Regions from separate parts of the Homo sapiens genome. Here regions 2, 3, 4, 5 and 6 are each linked to region 1. Evidence: promoter capture Hi-C in 16 types of primary human blood cells and fetal thymus (Javierre and others, 2016). All regions are on one chromosome and are shown on one strand. Each heading gives the region's core, a stretch centred on a gene start or on the middle of the fragment in contact. The rest is flanking DNA. Distances are from core to core; before and after follow the strand shown. Region 1 holds the start of FAT4 (FAT atypical cadherin 4). Region 2 overlaps LOC102724210 (a long non-coding RNA gene). Region 3 overlaps INTU (inturned planar cell polarity protein). Region 4 overlaps LOC102724210 (a long non-coding RNA gene). Region 5 overlaps LOC102724210 (a long non-coding RNA gene). Region 6 has its middle 130 kb from the start of INTU.

Region 1 (4,523 bases), core at 415-2,914:
GCCGGGGCGCGTCTGGATGGTGCCTACCAGAGTGCCTGGAGGTTGCTCTTCCAGCACTTGGAACACCTGGCGCGGCTCGGCCCCGTGGACCCAGGCCTGCCCCGGAAGCAATGACAGTAGCCAAAACACTCGAAGGAGCTGAGATACTGATAGAGTGTGCAACGGGAGCCACGGGCGGCCAGTAGCCCTGTCTGGTGCTAAGTCCATGGTCCTGGCTCCCTAAAACGATGTGATAAAGAGAAGGAAGGGGTGAAGCAAACGCAATGATATTTACAGGGATTAAGGAGCGCCAGCAAAGATTCAGCTGACGGCTTGGTCTGAGACCTCTGCTATTTCAAAGAACCTCCAGTCCGGCAAAAGCAAGTAGCATCAGCAAAAGACTCTAGGTAGCCAGTTGAACGCGGAGTGCAAGAGAGATGCTGTGGCGAAAAGCGGCAGGGCATTCCGCGGGACACTCCTGTGAGCTGAGTTCCCAGAAAAGTTTCTCAAGCCTCTTATATATGCCCCCTTTTACTTTGTTTTTGAATCCAGATAGTCTGAGCGTTTTCACCCGGGTGGATGAGAGTTGGGAGAAGTTGCCTGTATCTAAGGTATATGAGGAATCATTGCAAAGAACGGTCTTCAGAAACTTTAGAACTTACCCGCAGCGAAGAACGTGAAGAGGGAGGAACAAACGTCCAAGCACAACTGCGCACCGGGGAAGGGGTGGTGGGGAACCGGGAGAATCGAATTTCTTTCCCAAAAGCTGGAGGCGATGGAATTCCTGGAGTCCCCACTCCTCAAAAACCAGGCTGCAACGCCCCTCCAACAGGGCGCCGGCAGTGGCCGCTGAGGCCCAGGCGGCGGCGTCTGCGCGCAGGCAGTTCGGGAACTGCGTTCCAAGCGCTAGCGTTCGCGCTCTGGCTCCCGTACCCGGGAGCGCTCAACTCTGCCCCTTCCCCTCCTGCAGCCGCCGCCGCCGCCGCCCCTGTTGCGGCTTCAAGCCCGTGGTCCGGCACAAACAACAGCCAGGGCTCCTCGGCATTTTTCACCTCTGCCGGGGCGCCTGCCGACCCATTATTTGTACATCCAAATCGAACGCAGTTTCCCCTTTCTTCTCGGCCTCGCAGGGGTCGGGCAGAAACAGCGTGCGGTCCCCGAGTCGCCCTCCCCTCACCATGCCAGGGGGGGTCGTTCTCCGGCGGCCCCAGTCAGAAGCCCACTCTAGCGCGCCTCGCCCCTGCCCTCGCTATCTCTGCTTTTATTGTCCCGTGTCAGTTTCACTTTGTAATCCACAAGGCTTTTTGTTTGGGGCGGGGGGTGGTTGATGCCTCTCTCTCCTTCACAGTTGGCAGCGGAGGCGGCGAAGTCGGCGCTGGGCTGTAGTGACGCCCTCCGCAGCTCCGGACGGCGCCTGTCAGCGCTCTCCCTCTCGCCGGCCGGGGCCGAAGGTTGGACTGCGGTGGAGCTAGGGCTCCGCGAGCCCTTCTCCACCTCCCGCCTGGTCCCTCACACTCTCCCCGCCCCTTCCCCGCCGCACAGGCATGCACACACACACACATACACACGCACACACACACACACAGCGCGTCGCCGAAACACAAACAGAGGGGGAGGGAAGACCGCGAGCTGGAGCAGCACTCAGAAACTTTGCTCGACACTCATTGATCCCCGCACTTTAGTTCGCCTGGACTCCCCCTAGCTCCCAGTCCTGTCACCTTCTGCCCCTCCCTCGCCCCAGCCCCATTGGGCCGGAGCTGAAGCAGCCCCGACCGGCACTCCTACCGCGAGCGCCCTCCGCCTTGCCCGGCCTCCGACTGGCTTCTCGGGATGCTAATCACTTCAGCCTCCCGGAGGGCTGTAGGCGGTCTGGTGTGGGAGCACAGCGAGGCGGAGGCGCTAAAAAGGGGGGTGATTTTTTTTCTTTTCTTTTTTTTTTTTTTTTTTCCTTTTCGGCCAAATCTTGGCCGGCGTCAGAGCAATAACAGCAAAAGGCTGCCGCAGAATAGATGGGGGTGGGGTCAGGTTTGCAGATAAATAACTTTAGTGGCAGGGTCTGGGGGAAGACCGTTAGGTTGTTATGCTAGTAATAACTCAGGGGTAAGGGGGTCGAGAGAAATAAAAGAAAGGCGGGGGGTGAGGGTCTGTTAAAGCGGGGAGGAAGGATTAAGCAAAGCCTGTCTGGGAATGCACAGTGCAGATTTGCTTTAACCATTTCCTGCCCCTTCTCTCTTTATGCAAGGGATAGAGCTGCCATACAGTGTGATCCCACAGAATCCAAATCAAATCCTCCCCTTTGCTCCTCTTTCTACACAGTGGGCTCCCTGCTGTCTAGGGCGAGCTAAACTCTAAATCTTCACTCACTTGCCCCTCTCCCCCACCTTCCAGGTGACTAGGGGGCAGGAGGCCTCCGTAGCAAGGGCACTTTGGACTTCCTACTATAGGAAAGGCCAGGGGAACTCAGTGTTTGTTTTGTTTTCTTTCCCAACTGGATTCCAGGTGCCAGTAGCCCAAACCTTAGGGTTTCAACAACAATAATAATGGCAGCCCTTTGAAAAGAGGGAGATCTTTTCCTGTTGCAAAGTTAGTTTGGAATTTTGATCCCTGATGGAGTATTTCCACCTCCACATTTTTTAGTCAAAGGAAACCTAATAAAGTTTTATTTTGCTTTTCAGTCTGGGAGAAATAGATACGAGAAAGTAGAAATAAATAAAATAATATTTAAGCTTAAGTTTTTAAAAATACCCACATGCCACTTAATGCACTCAGATCAACTCACCCACTATTCACTGCAGTTAATTTTTGTGGTGGCATGCATCGTTTCTTTAAAAGAAGAAAAACGTTACTAGGAATCAGATCGATATTTTTCCCCTTTAAGGGAACCAACCTAGAAAATAAGAATTCAAGCCAAACAATGCAAATACAGGGCATATGTCATACATTTCTGCCACAAGGATCCCTCACAAACGTAAAACTTTCTGCGCCCAGAGAGGGTTCAGTCATGAGTAAATACTGCCCTCTGCTGTTCTACGTCAGTCTTACATCTTTAGTCTCCTGGTTTCTTGCTTAAAATTAAATGCAGAGACTAAAAGGATCGGATTACAAGGCTAATTCCTGCTTCTTGCCTAGGGATAGCAGCAAAGAAAACGATCTCTAAGACTTTCCTAGTGCCTTTCTTATTTAGAGTAAAAAAAAAAAAATCAAGAATAGTAGGACAGACAGCAAATTCAAGTCTTGATGATGCAGGCAGCCTGTAACTCAAAACTGATTTATGGAAACATGATTTCTAAAGCTATCACCAATTCCTCTGTTTAGGTTAAAAAGCTAACTTCTACATATTCCTCTACTGTAATGTAATGAGTTAACTGGAAACAGACAAAAAAGTTAAATTTAACCATTTATGTATTTTAAAACTTGAAAACATTAGACTCTAGACTTTTTAGAGACATTTAAGCCTGTTTTTCAAAAATCGTATTTTTCTTAAGTTACAATCCTAACACCATTATTTTTGGTATAATTTAGCCAAAAAATATTTGTAGATTAACTAAAGTGGCAAACAAATTTTTACAAATTTTTACAAATCATGTCTGTGTGATTTTAAGAGAATATTACTGTTTTGTTTTATTTTGTTTCCTAATGCACTATTATTCAAGTATTTATAGAGAAATAAACAGAAAGAAATCATTCAGATACTTGTTGTAGGAGATCATGGACTTTTGTTGGTTTGCTTGTTTTTTTTTGCCTGTGGGATAATCTTCAGATTTAGTGTCAATAGTATTACATTTGCATTATATATGAGTGAATTTAATTTGGGAAACAGGTGAAGATCATTCATTCTGTGAAATGGAAAGTATTCAATCAGTGCAATATGTATACATTTTAGTTTTACAAAACAAGATATGGCAAAATAAACTAATACAGAAAATATATAGAGAGATAGAGTACATAAAAATTTTTTGGACAATTTCAAAAGAGGATTATCGAAAATTATTTAGCCAATAGTGTGGTTATTTTAACAAGTAGAAACTTTTCGCATGATGACTACTTTAAAGTAACATATTCATTTATAGATAAAACCTATACATGAATTTACAATCTATGTATAGATAGGTACACAATTTAAGGTAAGATATAGAGCATGGTTTTAATAAAAGACAAAGGTATTTTGTTGTTACTTTTCTCTTTTGCATTTCAACCTGTAATATCATGCATGTTAAAAAATGGATGCCCTCCCAAAAAGTAAATCATGCATGATAAATAATATGGATCCCTCTCCAAAAGTAAATGAAAGAAAGTAAAGACATATAGAGATCATTGTATGCATGAAATATGCAAAAAAGCCATGGAATACATTACTAGGTAGATATTATAATGGAACACATTAATAAACAGTTAGTGTAAGAATCATTTCTCATTGTACATTTTCTTTAATTAATTGCCTTTCAAAAAAAAAAAGTTAAGTTTATCTGTGCTTTTCTACCAAAGGCTTGTGTGAGAAGTGTTGTTTAGTCAAAGCTTTTAATAAAGTTCTGAAGAGGAAGATA
Region 2 (4,798 bases), core at 1,099-3,598, 2.1 Mb before region 1:
AACGATTATTGAGTTGAATGAAATATCACAAAATTATATGTTATTTTGCATTTTGAGTTTTTAAGGTAAAAACATTTCACGAAGTTTCTATTATGTATTGACCAAATAAAAGAAAAATGGTTAGGAGTGGGTTTAAAGGCAAAAGTAAGAAATGTGATATCTTAAGATACCAGTGGAAAAATGTTTGGATTATTCTGACTTCCACATGCATAGCTCTACTTTAAATCCCACAGCTCACTGCCTATATTATTAGGTTGGAATAACCAATTCTATAATGGAGTAAAAATGATTTCACTGACAAGAAAAAGATGCCTTATAAGTCTAGTTGGGGTTTTGATCAAATGCGTAGAGTTCACTTTGTCTTAAACAAGAAAGTGATGGTGATTGTCATTAAAGCTCATGCTCTGTTTTTACTTTTGTGGGACCATTATACCCCCTAACTGCATAACACTACAATAACAAAATCACGTTTCCTGCTATTTCAAGAAATCTGAAATGGTGATGAAAGACATTTCCTACCAATGATGTCAGTGGTTATTTAATTGCCATTAAGATGGTAATGAAACTCTTTCTTGTCACTTACACCTGATGAAGTGTTCTTGATCAGATTGTGTGAAAAAATGACTGCCATTATATTATTGCTCTTTCTAAAAACTAGATTTTCATTGCTTTAATAATGTTAGCAAAGCAAGCTGAATTATGTTTGGCATTAGTTCTTGAATTATTGCCTCTAAATAGTATTATAAAAATTAAACTACCTTAGTTTTCCGTACTAAGGATAACTTACCTTTTTTTTTGCAATATTGAGAAAAACCTCATTTTTCCATTACTTGAGATAAAAATAAATCACCCATTCTAGATCTCAAATTGCCTCTGTCTTATTAATTTTAACTACCACTATCATTTTTTTTTCCTGAAGTCTAGAGCTATGCTTAAGTCACATCCATGGGACATAAAGCAAATTAAAAATTTCTGGATATTTTTTCTTGGCTTGAGATATTAAGGAATACGTAATAGTCCTCTCTTCTCTCACATTAATCTTGATATTTTCTGTTACCTGATTAACTGCTTTCTTTACTTGGCCACCTTCTAGGAAAGGCTGGAAAAGAAAGAAAATAAACAAAGACTATAAAACAGGAAGAGAGCTTATAGCATCAGTTCAGAAGTAGAGAAGCAACATTATCACTGGCATAAGAAAATTTCCCTATATCTCAAACCCTAAACAAGGCTATCGATCTTTAACTGAAAGTTGATGATAGTATGGTTAGTTGGAAAAAATATCAATGATGGATTCTATTTCTTAAACATTATTTTATTTCCAATTTTTGGGGTACATAGTAGGTATATATATTTATGAGGTACATTAGATGTTTTGATATGGGCATGCAATGTGAAATAATCACATCATGGAGAATGGGATATTCATTGCCTCAAGAATTTATCATTTGTCTTACAGACAATCCAATTGCACTCTTTAAGTTATTTTAAAATATACAATTAAGTTATTATTGACTATAGTCACCCTGTTGTACTATCAAATAGTAGGTCTTATTCTAACTATTTTTTTTGTGCCCGTTAACCATCCCCCAATGACAGAGTCAATTTTCTTTACCCTTGCAACTGAATTTGACAATGTGACTTACTTTGGTTAATTGGACACTGGCAGATGCTAGTGTGATGAACACTTACATGTCGGAGCTTACCCTATCTTGCTATTCTTTGGAACCCTGAGACTTCTGTGTAAAGAAACTCTGAAAGTCCCACTAGAGCAAGCTTGTCCAACCCACGGCCTGTAGGCCACATGCAGCCCAGGACAGCTTTGAATGCAGCCCAACACAAATTTGTAAACTTTCTGAATACATTATGAGATTCTTTTGCGGTTTTAAAAAACTCACCAGCTATCGTTAGTGTATTTTATGTGTGTGGCCCAATACAATTCTTCTTCCAGTGTGGCTCTGGGAAGCCCAAAGATTGGACACTGCTGTACTAGAGGATGAGAGAACACATGGAACACATATGACCTGTCCTCGCTCAGGTCTCTCTAAACCAACATGCCTGCCAACCCTCAGACATGTGAGTGGGACCATACTAGATTATTCAGTCCCAGCCAAGTTGGTGAGGACCAGAAGATCTGCTCAGTCAATTCACAGACTTATAGGAGATAAACATGATTGTTATTTTAAGTCATTAAGTTTTGGGACTATTTGGTATACAAGTAAAAGCTAATTGAAACAAATATAAAACTGGAACATTTGTTTTGGATGAAAAACACTGTCTCACCAAATTTCTGTTTTAAGTGCTTTTATTTCTATTATTGAAAAGGTACTTCAGCGGAAAAGTTGGTTTTAGTTTCATGAAGTCAGTGTAGCATGGGTAGCCTGGTCTGTAAAGATTCAATGACTTGAGTCATTTTAGTTGAAAACTATACTTTTCTCTTGAATTCCTGGGTGCCTCCATAAACTTTGTAAGATCTGGTTGCAATAATCTGTCAAGATACCATCACTTTTTAAATTATTAGGCTTTTCATTTCAATTTTGCTTATATGTTTTTAAACCATTACTTTTTATGTGAACATTTGGGAACCAAACGCATTAGCTATTGCGAATTTAATGTGACACATCATAGATGTAAGTAACATTAGCGGTAACACATTTTTTTACATTCCCATTGGAACTGGCAGCAAATTCTCAAAACTATCTGAGAAAGACTTTGCTGTATTTACTGTCAATAAGAATTATATCACAGATGCATGTATAGAACACATCTTCGTTCTGTCTATTGAAGAATATCTGGACGACAAAAATCCATTTATATTTGAATATATGCTCTCTCTCTCTTTTTTTTTTTTTTTTTGAGACAAAGTTTTCCTCCTGTTGCCCAGGCTGGAATGCAATGGTGCGATCTCGGCTCACTGCAAGCTTCGCCTCCCAGGTTCAAGTGATTCTCCTGCCTCAGCCTCCCAAGTTGCTGGGATTACAGGCACCGGCCACCACGCCCAACTTATTTTTTGTATTTTTAGTAGAGATGGGGTTTCGCCATGTTGGCCAGGCTGGTCTTGAACTCCTGACCTTAGATGATCCACCCGTCTCGGCCTTCCAAAGTGCTGGGATTACAGATGTGAGCCACTGCACCTGGTCTGCTCTCTATTTTTTTTTTTTTTTTTTGTTGAGACGGAGTCTTGCTCTGTCACCCAGGCTAGAGTGTAGTGGCATGATCTCGGCTCACTGCAAGCTCTGCCTCCTGGGTTCATGCCATTCTCCTGCCTCAGCCTCCCGAGTAGCTGGGATTACAGGTGCATGCCACCACGCCCAGCTAATTTTTTGTATTTTTAGTAGAGATGGGGTTTCACCATGTTAGCCAGGATGGTCTCGATTTCCTGACCTCGTGATCTGCCCACCTCAGCCTCCCAAAGTGCTGGGATTACAGGCGTGAGCCACGGCGCCCGGCCTGCTCTCTATTTTTAAAAAATTGATTGATATAGGTTGTTGACTGAGTGTGAAACTGTTGGTGAATTCAAGAAATTGCAGGGCTTAGAAATTGTGAGCATTCATCTTATTCTAGGGTTGTCTTGCCTTTTGTTATAATTTTGTCTTGACATTTTGATTGATACATGTACTGAATTCCTTTTGGATAGGTTGATTTGAAAGCTCAAATCCCAGGGATGGACAGAATAGTTTTTCATTTTATTTTTTGTCCAAGATGTTCAGAGTTGCAATCTATTCTTTTAAATACATGTTTTACCAGATGATCCAGCTCTTTGGAACCAGCTGGCTCTATATTACTCTGTTAGAAAATAAGTTTTAAAAACTGCAATCTAAAATCTGGAAGAGTTACCCATCTGGATTAGTGACAACTTTGCGTTTTCAAAGAGGAAATATAATTCATGCTACAAGTTATTATTTTGGAGAAAATTATATGTAATGAGTGAAATTTCATGTCTAATACCTTGCTCCAAGTTTTATTGATAGCAATTTAAAATTAAATCGTTTAGCTTTATGTCAAGGCAGCTATCAAGCTAGCTGTATATCAAACTGAGAGGACCAGACAGCCCTACTTATGAGTATCAATGAACTCAAGTATAGCAACTTTCTCAGTATGAAAGGAAACAAGTCTACTTAGATCTGATTTCAAGTAAAGAATTTATTTTTCTACTTTAACATGTTCCTGTCAATTTTGTTTGAGATGGTATTTGCTATGCAGTAGGTTTAAACTAATCCTGTTGCTTTTTTTTCCTAAAAGAAAAAAATATTTGTTTACTTCTGGTGGAGAGGTTAGATTGTATGTGGTCATTCTTTTAATAAGAATGGATAAGAACAAATATCTGACCTATGAGTACAGCATACAGTTCCTCTAGCACTGACATATCAAGTCTCAGAGTATTATGCTTTAAAAAAATGGTAGAATTTAGAGTTAGGTAATTTGGGCCTAATCTGCTGATTTGTTGGGTAGTCTTCAGTAACTCACTTAACCTCAGTTATAAAATGCTTTGAAATCCTTAGATGAAAGTTCCTGTGTTTGAGACAGAGTATCAGACTTGATTCTTATTTTATACAATCCTCAGGGGAAATTTTGAGAGCATTACATAGAACTAGAATTTGGCACAATAAAATTATAATGGATTTGGGGATTAAGTGAGCATGTTCAGTTTTTATGATTATTAACCATTGCAACAGCTCTGAATGATGGCAAAACATTCGTTTTTGTAGAGACTAGGTGCTGCAGAGAGAAATGAATGAGGCTCCTCAGTGGCCTGGCAATTAAAGCCAAAAAGAATCTTTGATTGTTCAAAATGGCTTAA
Region 3 (4,245 bases), core at 432-2,931, 2.4 Mb before region 1:
GCCTGCGCACTTCTACGAGCGGAGCCTGGGCTTTCTGATGAGGGAGGGGTCCGGAGGCGGTGAGCATTGAGCAGGAAAGGCGAGGGGAGGGGCCGAGGAGAGCCAGTTCTGTGTGAAGAAATTTAGTAGCTGAGACTAGGCCAGAGCAGTAAACCAGCGGTGTGAGATTAACAGAATTTAGTTTTAGTTCCTAGTGTTACCCCCTTCACTTTCTTAATCGCTTTAATCCGTTACGTTTTTTTTGACCAGAGATGGTTCCTTTGACCTTTCTTGGCATCTTAAAAAAGACAGTCTTACCTGTTGTGTGATTCAAGTGATGTTCCCCTTAAATTTCACCCTATGTGCCTGTTAATGCTTCAAATTCCCTTGGAAATTGCTTTAATCTGTTCCTTTAATTAAGCAGGGATCCTTTGTCTAGTCACTTTCTGTGTCGTTTTGATGATTGTGCCCCCATAGCATAATACATGTTCCTCTTTTTCATATTGTATTTAAATTGATAATATCCAGAGCAGTGGTTCTCAATCCAGACTGCACATTCAAGGGGATGAGGGGTGTTTTGTTTTGTTTTTCAAATTGATGCTTGGGATTAGGCCCTGCACATTAAATCAGAACGTCTAGAAGTGAGGCCTGGCATCAGTATTTAAATTCTCCAGGTAATTCTAGTGTTTGAAGTAATTCTAATTCTAGGGTTGAGGGCCAATGACCTATCTAGAAGAGTAGTTCACAAACTTTTCGATTGCAGGACCCCTCTTTTTCACTCTGAAAAATTATTGAAGGCCAGGTACCAGTAATCCCAAAACTTTGGGCCAAGTCCAGCCTGGGCAACATAGTGAGACCCCTCCTTTACAAAAAAAAAAATAGCTGGGCGTGGCTGCACAAGCCTGTAGTCCTAAGTATAGCTACTTAGGAGGCTAAGACAGGAGAAATGCTTGAGCCCTGGAGTTGTAGGCTGCAGTGAGTTATTATCTCACCACTGTGCTCCAGCCTGGGCAACAGAGCAGGACCCTGTCTCTTAAAAAAAATTATTGAAGACACAATGAAGCTTCCGTTTTTATTATGTATATTGGCATTTACCACTCAGAAATTAAAACACGATTTAAAAATATTTAATTCATTTAAAATAAAAATAATCCATTACAGGATAGCATAAGTACGACTTTTAAATAAAAAATGTAGTAGAAAAATAGTATTGTTTTATATTTTTGAATCTCTAATGTCTGATTTAATAAAAGACAGCTAGATTCACATTACTGCTTTTGCATTCAGTCTGTTGTGATATCATACATGTAGCCACTGGAAAACTCCACTGTTTATTCAGGACAGAATGAAAGTGAAAAAGGCAAATAATAGTATCATTTAAGAAAATACCTTTGACTTCATGGTGTTCCTGTCTCCGTGACACAGAGGGGTTTTCTAAACTGCACTTTGAGAACTCATTTAGAGGAGGTTGGCAGATTCAGGTTTGACTTCTTTCGGCAAAAATACTCAGTAGAGGTACGTCTAGCCTGTACATAACATTTGTCTTTTTCTTTCACCTCACTTTTTTCACTTAATATATCGTGGAGATCCTTCTATAGTAGCATTTAATATATCCCTTTTTACAGCTCGTTTGGTGTTTTGAAATAAATGGAGATCCCATCTTATCACCTCTTACTCTGTAGGACCTGCAGAGCCTTACAACACATCTATAAAATGTGAAATGAGTTTTTAGCTTTTTTTGAATGTTAGGTTCTAATTTTTCCTTTGTCTTATGTGTTATAACCCTTCTACTAGTACTTGTCACTAGTAAAAAACCATTTAGGTCAGAAGGATTCCAGACCAGGAATGTTGTCAATATTTTGATTACCTCACATAAAATCAGTTGGCAAGTCCTACTGATATCATATGTTTGGTGCTACTTCCTTTCCATGGTGGCTTATTCAACCTTTTTTTTTGAGACAGAGTCTCGCTCTGTTGCCCAGGCTGGAATGCAGTGGTGCAATATTGGCTCACTGAAACCCGGGTTTCAAGCAATTCTCCTGCCTCCGCCTCCCAAATGGCTGGGATTACAGGCATCCACCACAACACCCAGCTAAGTTTTGTATTTTTAGTGGAGACAGGGTTTCACCATGTTGGCCAGGCTGGTCTCAAACTCCTGACCTCAAGTGATCCACCCGCCTTGGCCTCCCAAAGTGCTGGGATTACAGGCATGAGCCACCACGCCCGACCGGCTTATTCAACTCTTAACTGGGTTTTCCAACTCGAATCTCTGTTTCTCTCTTTCACATGCAGCAGCCAGATTAATGTGTCTAAAGCATTAATTAATTAATTCTTAAGCTTAAACAAAATTGAAAGTCTTTCCATTGCATTGACTTCAAAATCCTTTGTCAAATTCATTGTAAATTCAATAAACAATTGGCTTTTTATTAGCAAACATCTGAAAAATGAAAGGTTTCGTTCTCCTTCAAGGGAATTTGAAGCATTAGCAGGCACATACGGAGAAATTTAAGGGGGAAATTACTTGAATCACTACAGGTAAGAGTGTCTTTTTAAGATCCAAGAAAGGTAAGGGAACCATCTCTGAGGACAGAAAGGAAGTGTTCTGCTGCTCCCCAGGGCAACTTTCTCTTTCTACCCTCCTCTAACATTTGATTTGATAGCTGACAATGTTTACATCATATTCCTTTATGATATCAAGCTTATTTCTGACATGTATTCATTGATAGAAGACAGACAAAAGTGAAAGTGTCAACTTAAAAATGTAGCTTTGTTAACCTTTTAAAAAACTTTTTGTTGAGACAGGGTCTCACTCTGCACCCAGACTGGAATGCAGTGGCAAGATCATGGCACACTGAAGCCTTGAACTCCTGGGCTCATGTAATTCTCCCACCTCAGCCTCCCAAGTAGCTAGGACTACAGGCAAAGACCACCATATCCAGCTAATTTTAAAAATTTTTTGTGGAGATGGGGTCTCCATATCAAGACAAGCCCAAGCTTGTCTTGAACTCATGGACTCAAGCAGTTCTTCCGCCTCAGCCTTTCAAAGTGCTGGGATTACAGTAGTGAGTCACCGCGCCCAGTAGCTTTTTAACCTTATTAAAAGCACTAAATCAACTCTTCAATAGGTCGGAGCTGAAACTGAGTAATTTACTGCATTGATTTTACTTACTGATTAGGGAAGGAAAAAAATTCTAGTGATTTATGTTAACATTAAAAGTAGAGTTTCTGGATCTTTGTTCTGTTCACTTTGCTCTCCGGAGAAATCAGCATGATTAGTTTCCTCACTTCAGGTCTGCAGTCAGCTCAGCATCCCTTTCCTTGGTCACCCTGTCTGCCACATCTTACATCCCCTTCTCTTGCTTTACGATTTTTTCTCTCAGCATTTACATATTTTACTTATTTATCTTGTCTGTGGTATGCCTCTCCCATTGGAACATAAACTCCATGAGGGCAGGAATTTTTAGCTGTTTTATTCATTGCTATAGCCTCTGCCTCCACATCAGCGCTTGGCACAGGGTAGAAATGCAATAAATACATGTTGGATGAATGCATGAAAAAGGCAATACAACTGCAAACAAACCTCCAAACCAGTTTTATTTAAAACTATCAATATAGTATAAAAGTAGCTTTAATTACATAGAATATAGAAACACAACTGCAAAATTAAATTATTTCATACAGTTTTGGTGCATAAAGTTTCAATAACATTTAACAATTTAAAAATATCCAAAGTATAAATTCTTGTTCTGAAAACTGTTTATTGATAAATGATTTTTCTCAGCTTTTCCCCTACATTTTGTACAGTAGCAGGTATGATTTAGCTGACTACTTGGTTTTTCAACCAATGGATATTTAATAATGATAATAATAAATGGTAGCAGTAGTAGCTAACACTTTTATAGCATGTAATATGTGCCAGGCACTGTTTAGAGAGAATTAACACATACAATTATGTCCAAAGCAGAAAAACCTAGTAAATTGGTTTCACAGCTTTGCCCATTTGTATTAGAAATATAAAAAAGCAGGTATTACAAAATGCTATCTTGCCATTATACAGCATCATCAATAGTCCCTTGGCACAAATAAGAAACATTCCCTTACTAGGTACACTTCTTTGGCAAGACACAAACAAGAGCTAAAGAAAGGGGAGAGGGAGAGAAAGTAAGAGTCTAAAATGTAATTTTGGGGGGGCTAAACATATGATAATGAGACAGTATTTGATATTTTAAAAAATGCTAGCTATATATAGTTTTTCACATTAATAGT
Region 4 (4,326 bases), core at 1,702-4,201, 2.2 Mb before region 1:
AATTGTATTGCAAAATTGGGGTCATACGGTATGTGCAATTTTTGGTCCCAATTATACTTTATGCTTTGTTTTGAAAAATTTCCCAATGCTTCACATATTCGGTGGCTAAAACTTGACTGCACTCTTCACCTTCCTCCTTTCTTTTCTCAAATGTTTCTTCTGGCCTCTTTACTGCCACAACTGTCTCCTTTATACCTCTCCTGGGTACATCAGGCTTCCTCTTTTTCAGTCATGCTTGCATTTTGGGAAGATTTTTTAGTAATGCAGCCACCATTAAGTACTCAGAGACTCTGTTGCCTTGTATGTATTCTGCTCCATCTGTGAATCAGTGCCTCATTCATAAATTGAATTGGGATTAGGAAGCAATAGGCAGAGTGGCTTGTAATTCTATATATTGAGAATATTTTTGAGAACTAATTAATATGAGCAGTCTTACTGGAAAAAATTTCCAGAACCATGACAAACCGTGTTCTGTAATCTTGCAGCCAAGTCATAAATAAATGTTCTTGGTAAAAAGAAGAGGGAGGGTGGTTTTGTTGGGGTTCACATATCATGACCATGAGAAATGTCCACAGCTGTAAGAACACGCTCTGCTAAGAATCTGTCTTTCCCCACCTATGTAGAGAAGGCAGCTCATTTTACTAGTGAAAAGTTTATTCTTACTATGTTTTCGAAACATTTCTGTTTATTTTTATACTATGTCTTCAATGTAAGATGCACTTTACTCTCTATGACTGGTGTCTCTGTCTATAGTCAGCATTTTAAAATCTTGAGGTGAGTTTTACTAACGTAGTTGTATTTTTGACCTTGACTTTAATCTAGATGAGGAAATGAGTCTAGAATGAATAAATGGCTAGTTTTAGTGGTAATTATTTAAGAAGAGTTCCAGTTAATTTCTATATTTTAGGTTTGATTTGATTATTTAAATAAGAATCTATAAGAATATTTTGAAATTACTTCTAAAGAATGAAGCAGGCACTAAAAAGGGAAACATATTCCTCCCCTTCCCCCATCTCAAAGTATACCCTTCCTATAACAAATCCAGCACAATTCAAATTTGTCAATTTGCCTGATATTGAAGGGAAATGATTTTGGGTTTGAAATCTTAGACAATGATATTTCCTGGGAATATGTGAAGAAGTAAGGATAAATAACTAGGAGGAAAGGTTTATTTTAGAAATATTATTTTAACCTCTGCCTATCTTTGCCTTTTTACTTTCCTGACAAAGGAGAAATGCTATTGTGAATTCTATTAGGTTCAGTTATAGTATGTAAAATCATTCTCAGACTGGGCCCTTACATAGCAAATTACATTCTGGAGGTCATCTTTGAGAGCCATATTCCAGACGTAGCTAAGGGAAATACAATTATTTTATGGCAATTAAGAATTTAGAGCCATGGTACCCAGGCTGAGAGCACTGAATAAAAAGAACTTGGAAGAGAATTAATTTAGCTTAGGCTGAGAAGACTCTTAGTATAAATAGCATCTGGCTATGCTCAATTTAAGTTTTATATATTAGGGGAAAAGCACATGTATTTTGCCTGAATTCAGTACTACACATGATTGCTTAAAGAGTAGATATACTGCCATATCTATGAAATGAAATAGAAGTCAGCTTGGTCTGTGGGCTCTCCCATGCAAAGATAGGACCTTTATAATGGTAGCTAGGTTATGAGAAGAAATTGGAAAAAAAGGAGAGGCTGCTTTATATGTATATAATATCACAGGTTGAAGTGGAAAAAATAATTATGCAATATATTGTAAATGTAAAGAACCATGTGTTAAAAAAAAAAAACCCTAAGAATTATAATAATGTGAGAAGGAAAGTTAAGATTAATGGTAACTTTCATCTTTAGAAAAACACATTTTTCTTCTATATCATTTGATATCTGTACATGCATTTAAAAAGAGGTGTTTGGAGGCCAGGTGCTGTGGGTCACACCTGTAATCCTAGCACTTTGGGAGGCTGAGGTGGGCGGATTGCCTGAGCTCAGGAGTTCGAGACCAGCCTGGGTAACTTGGTGAAACCCCATATCTACTAAAATACAAAAATTAGCCCACCATGGTGGTGTGTGCCTGTAATCCCAGCTACTCAGGAGGCTGAGACAGGAGGATCACTTGAACTCAGAGGCAGAGGTTGCAGCGAGCCAAGACCTCGCCACTGTACTCCAGCCTGGGTGACAGAGCGAGACTCCATCTCCAAAAAAAAAAAACAAAAGAAGAGGTATTTGGATCTAGGTTACACAATCCACTGTTTTTCCTCCAGAACAGTGTACAGCATCTTTGGAGATTTCCTGTCAGCTCCTAAGTGAAGAGAATTGTTCTTAAAAACTTTGTGGCCTGTGAGTGCGGTGGCTTATGCCTGTAATCCCATCATTTTGGGAGGCTGAGGCTGGCGGATCACCTGAAGTCGGGAGTTTGAGACCAGCCTGACCAACACGGAGAAACTCCGTCTCTATTAAAAATACAAAATTTGCTGGGTGTGGAGTGGTGCATGCCTGTAATCCCAGCTACCCGGGAGGTGGAGGGAGGAGAATCGCTTGAACCTGGGAGGCAGAGGTTGTGGTGAGTCGAGATTGCGCCATTGCACTGCAGCCTGGGCAGCAAGAGTGAAACTCCGTTTCAAAAAAAAAAACAAAAAAAACCTTGTGGCCTGGAGCTAGGCTTTAACTAGTATAATTTTTCCACATTATCCTTGCAAGTTTAATGCAAATTGAGAAGAAAAGGAAATAATAATGAGGCTTATTAAGTATTGTATAAATTTTGCCAGAGGAAAGATAATGCAAATTATTATTATTATTATTATTAAATTATTTTGAGTCTCGTTTTCTCCCTTTCTCTCTCTCTGTGGTGGACATTTACCCCGTGTGTGGACTGAAAGTCTTTGTTTTACAGACCAAGGGGTACTCAATATACAGCCATTTCTCTTTTATTATTCATTGGTATGACTGAAAAAATCACGTTTGAAAGGAGTCATATTTATGGAATATTGTGTTTGAAGAGCATATGGCTATTAGAGATTAATAAATTAGCCATGAAAATAGGAAATGTCCTGAAGCCCTTGAAACATATTTGGTATTCAGCATTTGCATTAGCCAGTATCTCCCTTTCCAATTTTTAATAGGAGAAATACTACCCTCCTTTCCCCCTTATCTATCATATGTGTCTGTTATATTTAACCAAGTATCTGGGATATATACTCTCAGAACTTAAAAAAGAAGTGTTTTCATAAAAATTCCAGTAAAGGGAAGGGAAAAGGGAGGCTTCCTTTTGTCTTACAGGTTTTATTGTCTTTTTTCCCCTTTATAATCTTGGCACATACTATTACATGAAGGTTATGACAATGTTCAAAAAAGTCTTGTGCTATTTGATATAAATATCACAAGTTACAAATAAGTTTCCTTTGCTAAACGATAAATATGGCAAATGGTAAATAACTATCAGAATGCTTTTTTGACTCCCCTCTGTCTTGTCTTAAAAATGTTGCTTTCTTTTTCTTCCCTTGTTCTTCATCTGTCCTCATGCTTTACTTGATTGAAGTCAGTCATATAGTTTCAAAGAATATCTGAACACTAGTGACTCCAAGATTTACAGTTGTAGTCCAGGGCCACCTCCTGAATTTCTGATACATGTGAGCAGAGATCTTCTTTCAGTTGTCCCGTAGACATGGCATGCATTAATTTATTCATTCACTCAATGGATTTTTATTGAGGACCTAATATGTACCAGGTACTTAACATGTCCAGAACTTGCCATTCTACTCAATTTCTATTTTATCTCCATAAACACTTATCTCCAGATAACAAAAACAGAAACCCGGGACCAGTTTTCTCCTCATTTCCTTGATGTTAATGATGATAAAAATATTGGTCTGACACTGTGATAGGCATTTAACATATTAGTATATTGCATTAACTCATCTGTTCCATGGTGAACAGATCTGTTCTATGCAAACCTACCAGCAAAAGGCCAAAGAAGCTAAGCCAAAGAAAGAGACTGACAAATCCAGGTTCTCAGAAAGAAATAATTAATAGGGACTTACAAACAGAAGCTGTGTCTTGGGCAGTTGGGAGAGGAGATGGTGGATCCCTTCCCCATTTATTTCCCAAACCCAGGGCTTATATAGCATAGGGAATTTGCCTAAGTGCAGGCTTTATGGCAAGTATGTGATTTATAATGCTAAATTAAGTTTAACGTAAAACAGTCTTCTTATGTATATTAAGTTGAACCTCAAGTTCTCTTCCTACACGGTGAACTGTAGCCTAACTGGATGTGTTAACAGGCTATAACCTATTCCTGTGCCAATCACTGAGTTTTGGTCCATC
Region 5 (4,409 bases), core at 1,760-4,259, 2.1 Mb before region 1:
AAAGTGCTGTAGCATTGATAGTAAACATTTTTAGTAAATTCATAAATTGTTTTTTAGGTATAAGATGCTAAATTCATCTATCTGAGCTGCTAAGGTCATTTACAATGTACTTGGAATGAAAAGGAAATTTATTATAGCGCTCTATCATTCTCTTAACTCTTTGGCTGATAGATATCTTTGTATTTGGCAGCAGTGTCATTGTTCTTCTTTTTTAGTGTTTGCAGAATGCAATTTTGGCAGTTTCTGAGGGGAATAGAATTTACTGAGGCAGTTTATATTCTTAAAATGCAATAACTTGTTATGTCAGAATCTGCTTTGAAATGCCAGAAGAAAATATTTCCTCTTGCTCTGCCTTTCTTCCTTCATAATTGCTATAAACAATGCAAGTTGTCTACATAAACCATACAATTATTTATCGTTAATGTTTGATGGAATGTCTTTAAAAGTCAGACATAGTGCCAGATAGTGAAATGTTTGTTTATTTATTTTTCTGAATCTGGGGAATGTGGGAGGACAGCCCTGCCCAGGTCGTGTAGGAGCCTGGTCTGGGGAAGGCAGGAAAAGCAGCAGCCCAATTAATCCTGTTTCACCACCTCTCACTAGCAGTCCTTTATAGTTTAGAAAGGAATTCTGCCTCAAATGCTTTCATGAAATTAGTTGACTGGGAAGTAAATTAATACAAGATAAACCAAGAGGAACTGTGCATTGAGAGCTTTCTCATACTCATACATTCCTTGTGAGTTAGGTACGTTTTGCAACTGATGAGCTCCTGTTTTCCAAGCCTTGAGACTACATTATGCCATGATAATTATTTCTGTATTTGGGAATAAATGCTGTCATTGTTTTACCTCCATTGAAACACTTTGTCTCTTCAGGTTTAGTCTCTAGTTAGTTCAGATTAGTTATACTGACCCGTGAAATCCATAATAATAGGTTGGCATTTTAGTCAATATTTTGGAATGAAACTTTTACTTATAATCCCCTTATCTTCCTCTTGAAAATGAGAGAGTTGTTTGTAAACTGTGAGGACACCTCAAGGTTGTGGAACTGTTGAAGTTTTCATTTGAACCAATAGCAGAGCCAGACTTCATTAGATGTGATTCTGTAATTGTCATGACATTCCCTGTTCATAACATAAACAAACAAAAAAAGAAAATAAGGAGTGGAAGAAATTTCAGTATAGGACTTGAGAGACTCTCACAGGTCTTTTTTGGGGTAAGAGCATATATATATACGTATATATATGTATATATATATACGTATATATATATGTATATATATATACGTATATATATGTATATATATATACGTATATATATATGTATATATATATACGTATATATATACATATATATGTACATATATATGTGTATATATATATATACACACACACACATATTTGTATTTGTATTTGTATTTTAATTAGTATTTTAGGAAACATTCATATTTATATATAAAATACATTTTATATAAATATGTTATTTGAAGTATTTGTGTTACATATATTTATGTTAATATATTTTATATAAAATATCTACTTTCCCAAAACATGTATATATTATATAATTTTTTATACTTATACATAAATTTATAAATATAAATAATATATAAAATTCAAAATATAAATAATATGTAGCTATATACATAAATATACATTTAAAAATATTTGAGGTTATATATTTATATATAACAATATATAATATATAACAATATATAAATATATAATATAGAAATATTTTATATGTGTATGTTATATACACTTATATTTTGGAGGCTTTTATATGATAGCCTAGCAATTTCTTTAAAAGAAAAACCCAAAGCAAATACATTCTTGGCTGATAGGGTGTTTTGTGTAAATGTGCCTGGAAACTTGAGTAGGTAATAATGCTTTATTAATTTTTTTAGAAGTATTTAAACCAATTTTTGAGAATGTGAGTGTGCTAGTGAACAAATTTCATCTCAGTAAGAGATCATGCCCCCTTGCTCTGCTGGGCCCAGTCTAGTTACATACGTATTTTCTACAAACAGGGCACTAGGGGTGGGTGCCTGGCAATGGGCTTAATTGTTTGATGACAGAAGGCATTAAAAAACGGAGGGAAGTCCCTTGGCACTGCAGAGGGGAGGAGAGAAGAGAGAATAAGAAGTCTGTGATCCAGACTGTTTATTAACCTTGCCTTTCTGTGGAAAAGATCATTCACCCTGTCACTGGGCATGGAACTGGCAGCTGGGGTGTTGTCTCTGGCCCCTGAAACCAGATGAGCAAGGCTGTTGAAGGATGAGTTCGGCTGCGCTCCAGCTACCTCATGCTCTGAATAAAAGTCACAAAGAAACTCAGATGCAGCATATGCAAGACTGCGCTGAGGGGCTAGAAGCTTTTAGCTGCTAATTTGTTCTGTTTCCAAAGGACTAGCTGTTAAGAAGCAGCAAGGGCCATGGTGATGGAAAATATTACTATGTAAAGGTTGCCAATGAGACTGCTTGAAAAGGTGTTGGTAGGAATTTTCTTTTGGAGGTGAAGATGCTCCTCCACTTATAATGGGGTTATGTCTGAATACACCCTTCCTAGGTTGAAAATATAGCAAGACAAAAATTCATTTAATATACCTAACCCAGTGAACTTCATAACTTGGCCTAGCCTACCTTAAATGTGCTCAGAACACTAAGCCTACAGTTGGGCAAAGTCATCTGGCAGCACAGAACCCCATAGAGGTTGTTTACCCTTGTGATGGCATGGCTGACTGGGAGCTGTGACTTGCTGCCACTGCCCAGCAGTGCGAGAGAGTATGGCACCACTTTCTACTGAAGGCATATGGCTTTTACTCCATAGTAAAGTAGAAACATTGTAAGTTGGGGCCCATCTGTATAGTCAGTGACAGGCTAGTATTAAAACTCATGGATATCAAGGATTTGCTTTCTCCTGATAGCTCTGTGGCTATGGGCTTCTTGGACTATAGCTCCATCCCTTGGGTACCAATAAAGCTGAAAGTTCTGTAGTACAGTTGCAGTGCCTGGTGTGTGGGGACAGAGATGACAGTCTAGGGTACCTGACTAGATATTCCTCTGTGGTTCCAGAGTAGAGTTGGGTGAATAATTGCTGAGATATGTCCAGGCATTGTTCCATCTCCTTGTATTTGAACCATGGCCTCTGGACAGAGGACAAAGAATTATGTCAGAATTTACTTAGTGGTAGTGAAACAGCCCAATTTAGTTGTCTTCTAAAACTTTGTTTCAGCTGACATGGACCTCTAGGGTAAAAAAAAAAAAAAAAGGAAATGGTTTAGAACATGAAAGTGATAGAAGGAAACACCTTATTTATCTTTCCCACTCCTTCCTAAGACGTAAACTATTTGGAAGTTAAATGTCTGTGTGCATTATGTTTTGCAGGGCTTGGATCTTCCTCTGATAGTTCTACTTCATTCTGTCAAAGATCCAATTCCCGAAAGAGTTTTTTTCATCATCTTCAAACATCCAGTGAGTGTTTCTCTATGATGTTGCTTTCCTGATGCCTCTACCAGGCTGTCTGAGACATCTGGTAGTTCACAGTTCTTTTAAAATTTTGGGGATGATTTAATATTTAAAGAGTAACTTTTTGTTGGAACTTCACATCAGTTTTTCCAATTCAAGTTATCAGTATTAACTAAGCTTATGGTGTGCCCTGCATGAGATTTGGACCTCAAAGAACATAGGAGATCACATAGACTTCATACATCTTAAACAATTAGAGAACATTACCAGAAAATATAAATTTAAGAGTTCATTTATGTGGAGCAAGCTCTTAAGTGCAGGATAGATTAGGATAACTGAGAGTGAACCCTGGCTCTGCCACCCTGCATAAATCATAGTCTCTCTAATCCTCATGTGTCTAATAGGGATACTATTAACTGTCTCTAGGATTGCTGAAAGGATTAAATAACACCCAAAATGTGCCAAGTGCATCATAGGCACTCAGTGCATGTCAGTTAATGCAATGTAGTATGGGGAAGACATAAAAAGAGGGAGGAAAATGTGAATGAGATGATGAAGGATGGGGAAGACATGATTAGCAGAGAGGAGTGATGAGGACATTTGCAAGGAGATTGGAGGGAGAAAGTGAGTTAAGATAGGGAGCTGGGAATGACTTAGGTGTGGCCGTGGGCCCAATTGGGGTGGAGGGTGACATGGTAAAGCAATAAGATAAAAAAGAGGACTTGCATGACCAGCTAAGAAGTCTGATGAGATCCAATAAGCAGTTGAATATTATATGAACACAAGTGACATTTTGGAAAGATTTTTACAGTATGTAAAACTAATGCAGCAGCCCTATGAGGAAAGTATTGTTATTATCCTCATTTTCCAGGTGAAAAATAGCATTTGGAAGAGGTTTCAAAGAAACTTCACATAGGTATTTACTATGTGAATATAGTAATAAC
Region 6 (4,807 bases), core at 1,532-4,031, 2.2 Mb before region 1:
GCAACTCTCAGTCAGAACCATAAGTGGACCCCTTTCTGAATTTCTGACCTACAGAAATAATGAAAGATAACAATGATAGTTGTTGTTTTAAGTGACTACCTTTTGGTGTGATTCATCATGTAGCAGTAGACTAATGGAGCAGATTTGATGCAGAAATGGAGTGCTAACATAACAAAACCTATGGGCTTGTCCACTGGGCAGTGGACAGAATCCTTTAGAAGAGACTTAGTGAAATCCCAAAGTACCTCGGGAGGGTGTCAGTGAGAGCTCGAAGGATCTTGAGGAGAGTGTTAGCAGAAGCCTAACGGATCTTGAAGGCTGTCTGTGAGGGCTTAATGCAAAGTGAAGAAAATGTAACAGGAAGTTAGAAAAAAGAGAACCCTTGTTATGTAGTGACAGAAAATTTAGCAAAATTCTTGCCTGTATGAATGTAGAACGTAGAACATGTGCCTAATGAACTCAGTGGTTCTCCAGCTTATGAGATTTCCAGGTGGAATGTTGAAGGATCAATCTGGCTTCTTACTGCCCATGACAAAATGAAAGGAGGGTGATGAACAAAAGAACAAATTATTCTGTTTTGAGTGGAATTTATAGAAAATGGAAAAGGTTCAGAGCGGTCATTTCAGACAACAAACTGTTTTCAAAAACGGGCTTTAGGACAAAGATTTAAGGGCTAGATAGGACTAAAATATTCTTTGTAAAACTCAGAAAGTTCTAAGTCCTTGTATAATACATGCAATACAGGAGAGGCCCTAAGCCAGAACCACCCAGATGAGCCTACTCTAAATTCTTGGCCCAAGGAAACTATAAAAGATAATAAAATGATTGTTGTTGTTTTAAACCACTTTAATTTGGAGTGGTTTTTAAATAGAAGTAGATGACTGGAACATATTCAAAAGACAAGAATACTGTGTAAAGTCATAACTACTCATTTCTAATTTTAAAAATGATTTTGCCCCCAGGGAGTAGGGCAAACATTTTTTTCAGGTATGTGAATATTAAATCAATGCAATATGTCTTATTTTAGTTCCAAAGAAAAAAATTTAAAAAATATGAAAAACTTCTGCTTAAAGGTTAAGCCACATTTTATTTAAATGCTGAATAATATATATGTTCCTTTCTTTATTAAACCATCATTAAAGCAGGATGGAAATATTTTTAGACTGGAGAATTAGCCTTTTTCATTGTAAGTGTTGCAATATATGACAACCCTTTTCAGAAAGGTGAGTGTTACAGAGGGCCAATAAAAATCATTTTAATTAAGCATTTAATTTTCACCCAGAAGTGAAAGTTCCCACAAGTAAAGTTTCTCACCATGTGAGCTTTTACAATGACATGTTGAGAAAAATGAACATAATTTTCCTTTACATAAAATAAAAATAAATGGGGCTGACACTTTGCCTTTAATCAATGATAGATACATATCAATTTATAGCAATTTAAATAAAGACCACCAGTGAAATTTACATGGTGTGCACAGTTTAAATACTTTGAAAAGGGATCATATTGTAGGACACTGTTATATTCAGAAGCTTCTATGGGCTTTTTCTCTACCATCTTTTCCTCTCTTTCTCCTTCACTTCTTTTTTCTCCTCTTCCTGTTTTCCTTTTCTTCATCTTTCTCCTCCTCCTCCGTTCTTCATTTGTGATTTTAAAAGATCGTTTTCTTTACGGTTGGTCAATATTATTTCCCTTTTCTTTGGCTTATCTCTTTATCATTTGTATTTATATATAGTGCTTACTCTAGTTGCTAGCTATATTCAGAAGAAAACTATTGTGTTAAAAATGGGTGACATGGGTAATTATTCCTGACTTTAGGGAGTTCACATTTTACTGTGGGAAATAGTCATGTATTGAGCTCATCATAGTATTCTCCCATACACAGAAGTCAAACGAATAATGTGCTTGAGACCACAGAAAAGGGAGTGATTAAAATTTTGGGGGTGATGATAGAGTTTAAACAGTGGTGTGCTGAAGCTGGCTTGTACTTGTTTGTGAGAGCTGGATTTGCATATCGTTTTTTTAAGATTAAATGATAGTTTATTTAAAAAGAATTAAAACAGAAACTCTAAATACCAGTGTGTACATCGTACCCATTTAAATGATTTACAAGAATGACTTTTTCTCAAAAAAAAAAAAAAGAAAAAAGAATGACTTTTTCATATATGTTAAGACCATACTACCTAGTTTATCAAAAGTTGTTCAAGGAGAAATCTACTCCAAATTGCATACAGTTTTGTCATTTTAAAGAGACGACATTCCAAACATGCAACAGTGCCACTGGTAATGAAATTTTGAAATGAGTGTTCATTCTATTATTTGACTATAAACAGGAGAGAAAGCAAGATAAGTTGGGAATTTGTTCTAAAGTAGAATGGATGTTGTCATCATCTACACCCCGCTTCAGTCCTTTGCTGCCATTTTTAGCAAGTACTCCTTGTCGGTTTTGAAGGGTCTCCAGCTGTCTTCCCTGGGCACCTCTTCTTTTGTAGAGGTTAACAGATGGTTCATTTCATTCTGCTACTAAGAAGTGCATGGTGCTACAGTGATACTTCATTGTGACCTGGCTTAAATTCTTCAGAATTTCTGATTTATGCCAAAGCCTTTTTCATTACTCATCCAAAGAAGTACAATAGCTTGCCAATTCAAGGGTCATAGGTACAACAGTACATGGTGAAACCAACAGTAATTCTTTCTTTCCAGAGTCCAGTGTTTCTTGGGCATCTCTGCAACCACACAGTGGTGGAAGGGATGCTCTCTGAAACCACTCTCTAGCAGATCTTTTTCAGTTAATATTACTTGGTCTCCCACATATTCATATTTAGCCAGTTCCCTGATCAGCCACAGATACCACTGGAGTCAGCAGTGATGGCAGGATGGATCACAAATGTAGCCATTTTCTTCTTTTATTTTTCTTCCCTTTATGTAATAGGCCCCTATGCTTGAATGGCAGGAGGAGGTGGTTCCTCATTCATGACCCAATGAGCCTCAGTGAGTGATAGACGTGCTTCAGTGGAGCTGTGCCGAGAGCTGTGCCCGAGTGCCCTTTATCATGGAAGAGACGGCTTTTGAACTCAGCTTTACAGGATAAGTAGATTGGTGCAAAAGTAATTGTGTTTTTTGCCATTACTTTTTTAAAAAATTAAAAATTAAAAAAAGGGCAAAAACTGCAATTACTCTTGCAACAAAATAATAGAAGGGTTTTTGCCAGGATGAAAGGGAGAGTGGACCGGGGAAAGGTGGTGATATTGTTTGGACAGTTGTTCCTTCCAAATCTCATGTAGAAATGTGATTCCCAAGGAACCTGGTGGGAGGCGACTGGATCATGGGGATTGATCCCACATGAATGGTTTGGTTGTTTAAGAGTCTAGGACCCCCCCACCCTTGCATTCTTGCTTGCTCCCACTCTCGCCATGTGACGTGCCTGCTCCCCCTTTGCCTTCTGCCATGATTGAAAACTTCCTGAGGCCTCACTAGAAACCTAGCAGATGCATGCTCCATGCTTCCTGTACAGCCTGCAGAACTATGAGCCAATTAAGCCTCCTTTCTTTATAAATTACCCAGCCTCAGGTATTCCTTTATAGCACTGCAAGAACAAACTAATACAGGCAGTCTAGGTAATAATAACGGTATCATTTACTGGGTGCCTACTGTGCTTTAGATACTGTGCTAAGGAAGCACTTCCATGCACTATTGAGAGGTGAAGCCAGCTGGACTTCCTGGGTCCAGTGGGGACTTGGAGAACTTTTCTGTCTAGCTAAAGGATTGTAAGTGCACCAATCAGCACTCTGTGTCTAGCTAAAGGATTGTAAATGCAGCAATCAGCACTCTGTAAAAATGCACCAATCAGCACTCTGTGTCTAGCTAAAGTGTATATCCACCAATCAGCACTCTGTAAAATGGACAAATCAGCACTCTGTAAAATGGACCAATCAGCAGGACATGGGTGGGGCCAAATAAGGGAATAAAAGTGACCACCCAAGCCAGCACGGTAACCTGCTCAGGTGCCTTTTGGTGATGTGGAAGCTTTGTTCTTTCACTCTTCACAATAAATCTTGCTGCTGCTCACTCTGTGAGACAACACTACCTTTATAAGCTGTAACACTCAACGCGAGAGTCTGCGGCTTCACTACTGAGGTCAGTGAAACCACGAACCCACTGGGAGGAACAAACAACTCCAGACATGCCACCTTTAAGAGCTGTAACACGCATTGCAAAGGTCTGTGGCTTCACTCCTGAAGTCAGCAAGACCGTGAACCCACCAGAAGGAAGAAACTCTAGACACATCTGAACATATGAAGGAACAAACTCCAGACACACCATTTTTAAGAGCTGTAACACTCACCGCGAAGGTCCGTGGCTTCATTCTTGATGTCAGTGAGACCAAGAACCCACTGGAAGGAATAAATTCCAGACACACTATCATACTTAAGCATGGAAACAGTCTTGTGAGGTAGGTATTTACCAACCTCATTTTTACCTAGAAAATGAAGACTCTGGGATTTGAAATAATGTCTATCAGACTCCAAAGGTTTACCACTGTACTTTACTGCCTCATAAGCAAATAAGTGGATGTGGGGAAATTTGGGAGGGTGGACCAAGTTTAACAACACATTATTTTCTTTATCTCCAATTTGACATAGCTTGCAGTTTTCTAAAGCCAGGTATAAATTTCTCTGGCTGGGGCAGTTATTCTTCAGGAAAACTCTTTAATGAGACATCTATCTTATAGACTCATATGACCTTTGAGGATATTTTTTAGTTTATTCAGGATATTATATTTAAAGACAGTACTGAGGGATAAAGA

What was found. The method cuts DNA at HindIII sites, captures the fragments that hold promoters and counts their contacts. A CHiCAGO score of 5 or more calls a contact.
Region 2: a fragment that was not itself captured here is called in contact with the fragment with the promoter of FAT4 in region 1 in 5 of 17 cell types (M2 macrophages, M0 macrophages, M1 macrophages and 2 more); the score reaches 17.3 in M2 macrophages.
Region 3: a contact is called between a fragment that was not itself captured here and the fragment with the promoter of FAT4 in region 1, in 1 of 17 cell types (M2 macrophages). The highest score is 8.8, in M2 macrophages.
Region 4: a contact is called between a fragment that was not itself captured here and the fragment with the promoter of FAT4 in region 1, in 3 of 17 cell types (M0 macrophages, M2 macrophages and M1 macrophages). The highest score is 13.6, in M0 macrophages.
Region 5: a fragment that was not itself captured here is called in contact with the fragment with the promoter of FAT4 in region 1 in 2 of 17 cell types (M2 macrophages and M0 macrophages); the score reaches 10.8 in M2 macrophages.
Region 6: a fragment that was not itself captured here is called in contact with the fragment with the promoter of FAT4 in region 1 in 4 of 17 cell types (M1 macrophages, M0 macrophages, M2 macrophages and 1 more); the score reaches 9.2 in M1 macrophages.

Annotation. Positions count from the first base shown.
Region 1 is chr4:125,312,096-125,316,618 of GRCh38, reverse strand. FAT4 (FAT atypical cadherin 4) reads right to left here and starts at 1,664. Exons shown (of 18, transcript NM_001291303.3): 1 at 642-1,664; 2 at 1-219. The coding sequence starts at 207. The HindIII fragment of the contact is 5,556 bases long and covers 1-2,707 here.
Region 2 is chr4:127,393,724-127,398,521 of GRCh38, reverse strand. All of the region lies in intron 4 of LOC102724210 (a long non-coding RNA gene), which reads left to right. Among named protein-coding and RNA genes, the nearest start is that of INTU, 240 kb to the left of the region's middle. The HindIII fragment of the contact is 1,145 bases long and covers 1,776-2,920 here.
Region 3 is chr4:127,726,041-127,730,285 of GRCh38, reverse strand. It overlaps INTU (inturned planar cell polarity protein), which reads right to left. Exons shown (of 16, transcript NM_015693.4): 16 at 3,549-4,245. Among named protein-coding and RNA genes, the nearest start is that of SLC25A31, 2.2 kb to the left of the region's middle. RefSeq lists a silencer at 9-166. The HindIII fragment of the contact is 1,274 bases long and covers 1,045-2,318 here.
Region 4 is chr4:127,465,648-127,469,973 of GRCh38, reverse strand. The region is part of intron 1 of LOC102724210 (a long non-coding RNA gene); the gene reads left to right. Among named protein-coding and RNA genes, the nearest start is that of INTU, 170 kb to the left of the region's middle. The HindIII fragment of the contact is 6,029 bases long and covers 1-4,326 here.
Region 5 is chr4:127,414,138-127,418,546 of GRCh38, reverse strand. LOC102724210 (a long non-coding RNA gene) reads left to right here. Exons shown (of 11, transcript XR_001741824.3): 2 at 3,385-3,471. Among named protein-coding and RNA genes, the nearest start is that of INTU, 220 kb to the left of the region's middle. The HindIII fragment of the contact is 1,270 bases long and covers 2,375-3,644 here.
Region 6 is chr4:127,496,418-127,501,224 of GRCh38, reverse strand. No RefSeq gene overlaps it. Among named protein-coding and RNA genes, the nearest start is that of INTU, 130 kb to the left of the region's middle. The HindIII fragment of the contact is 2,494 bases long and covers 1,535-4,028 here.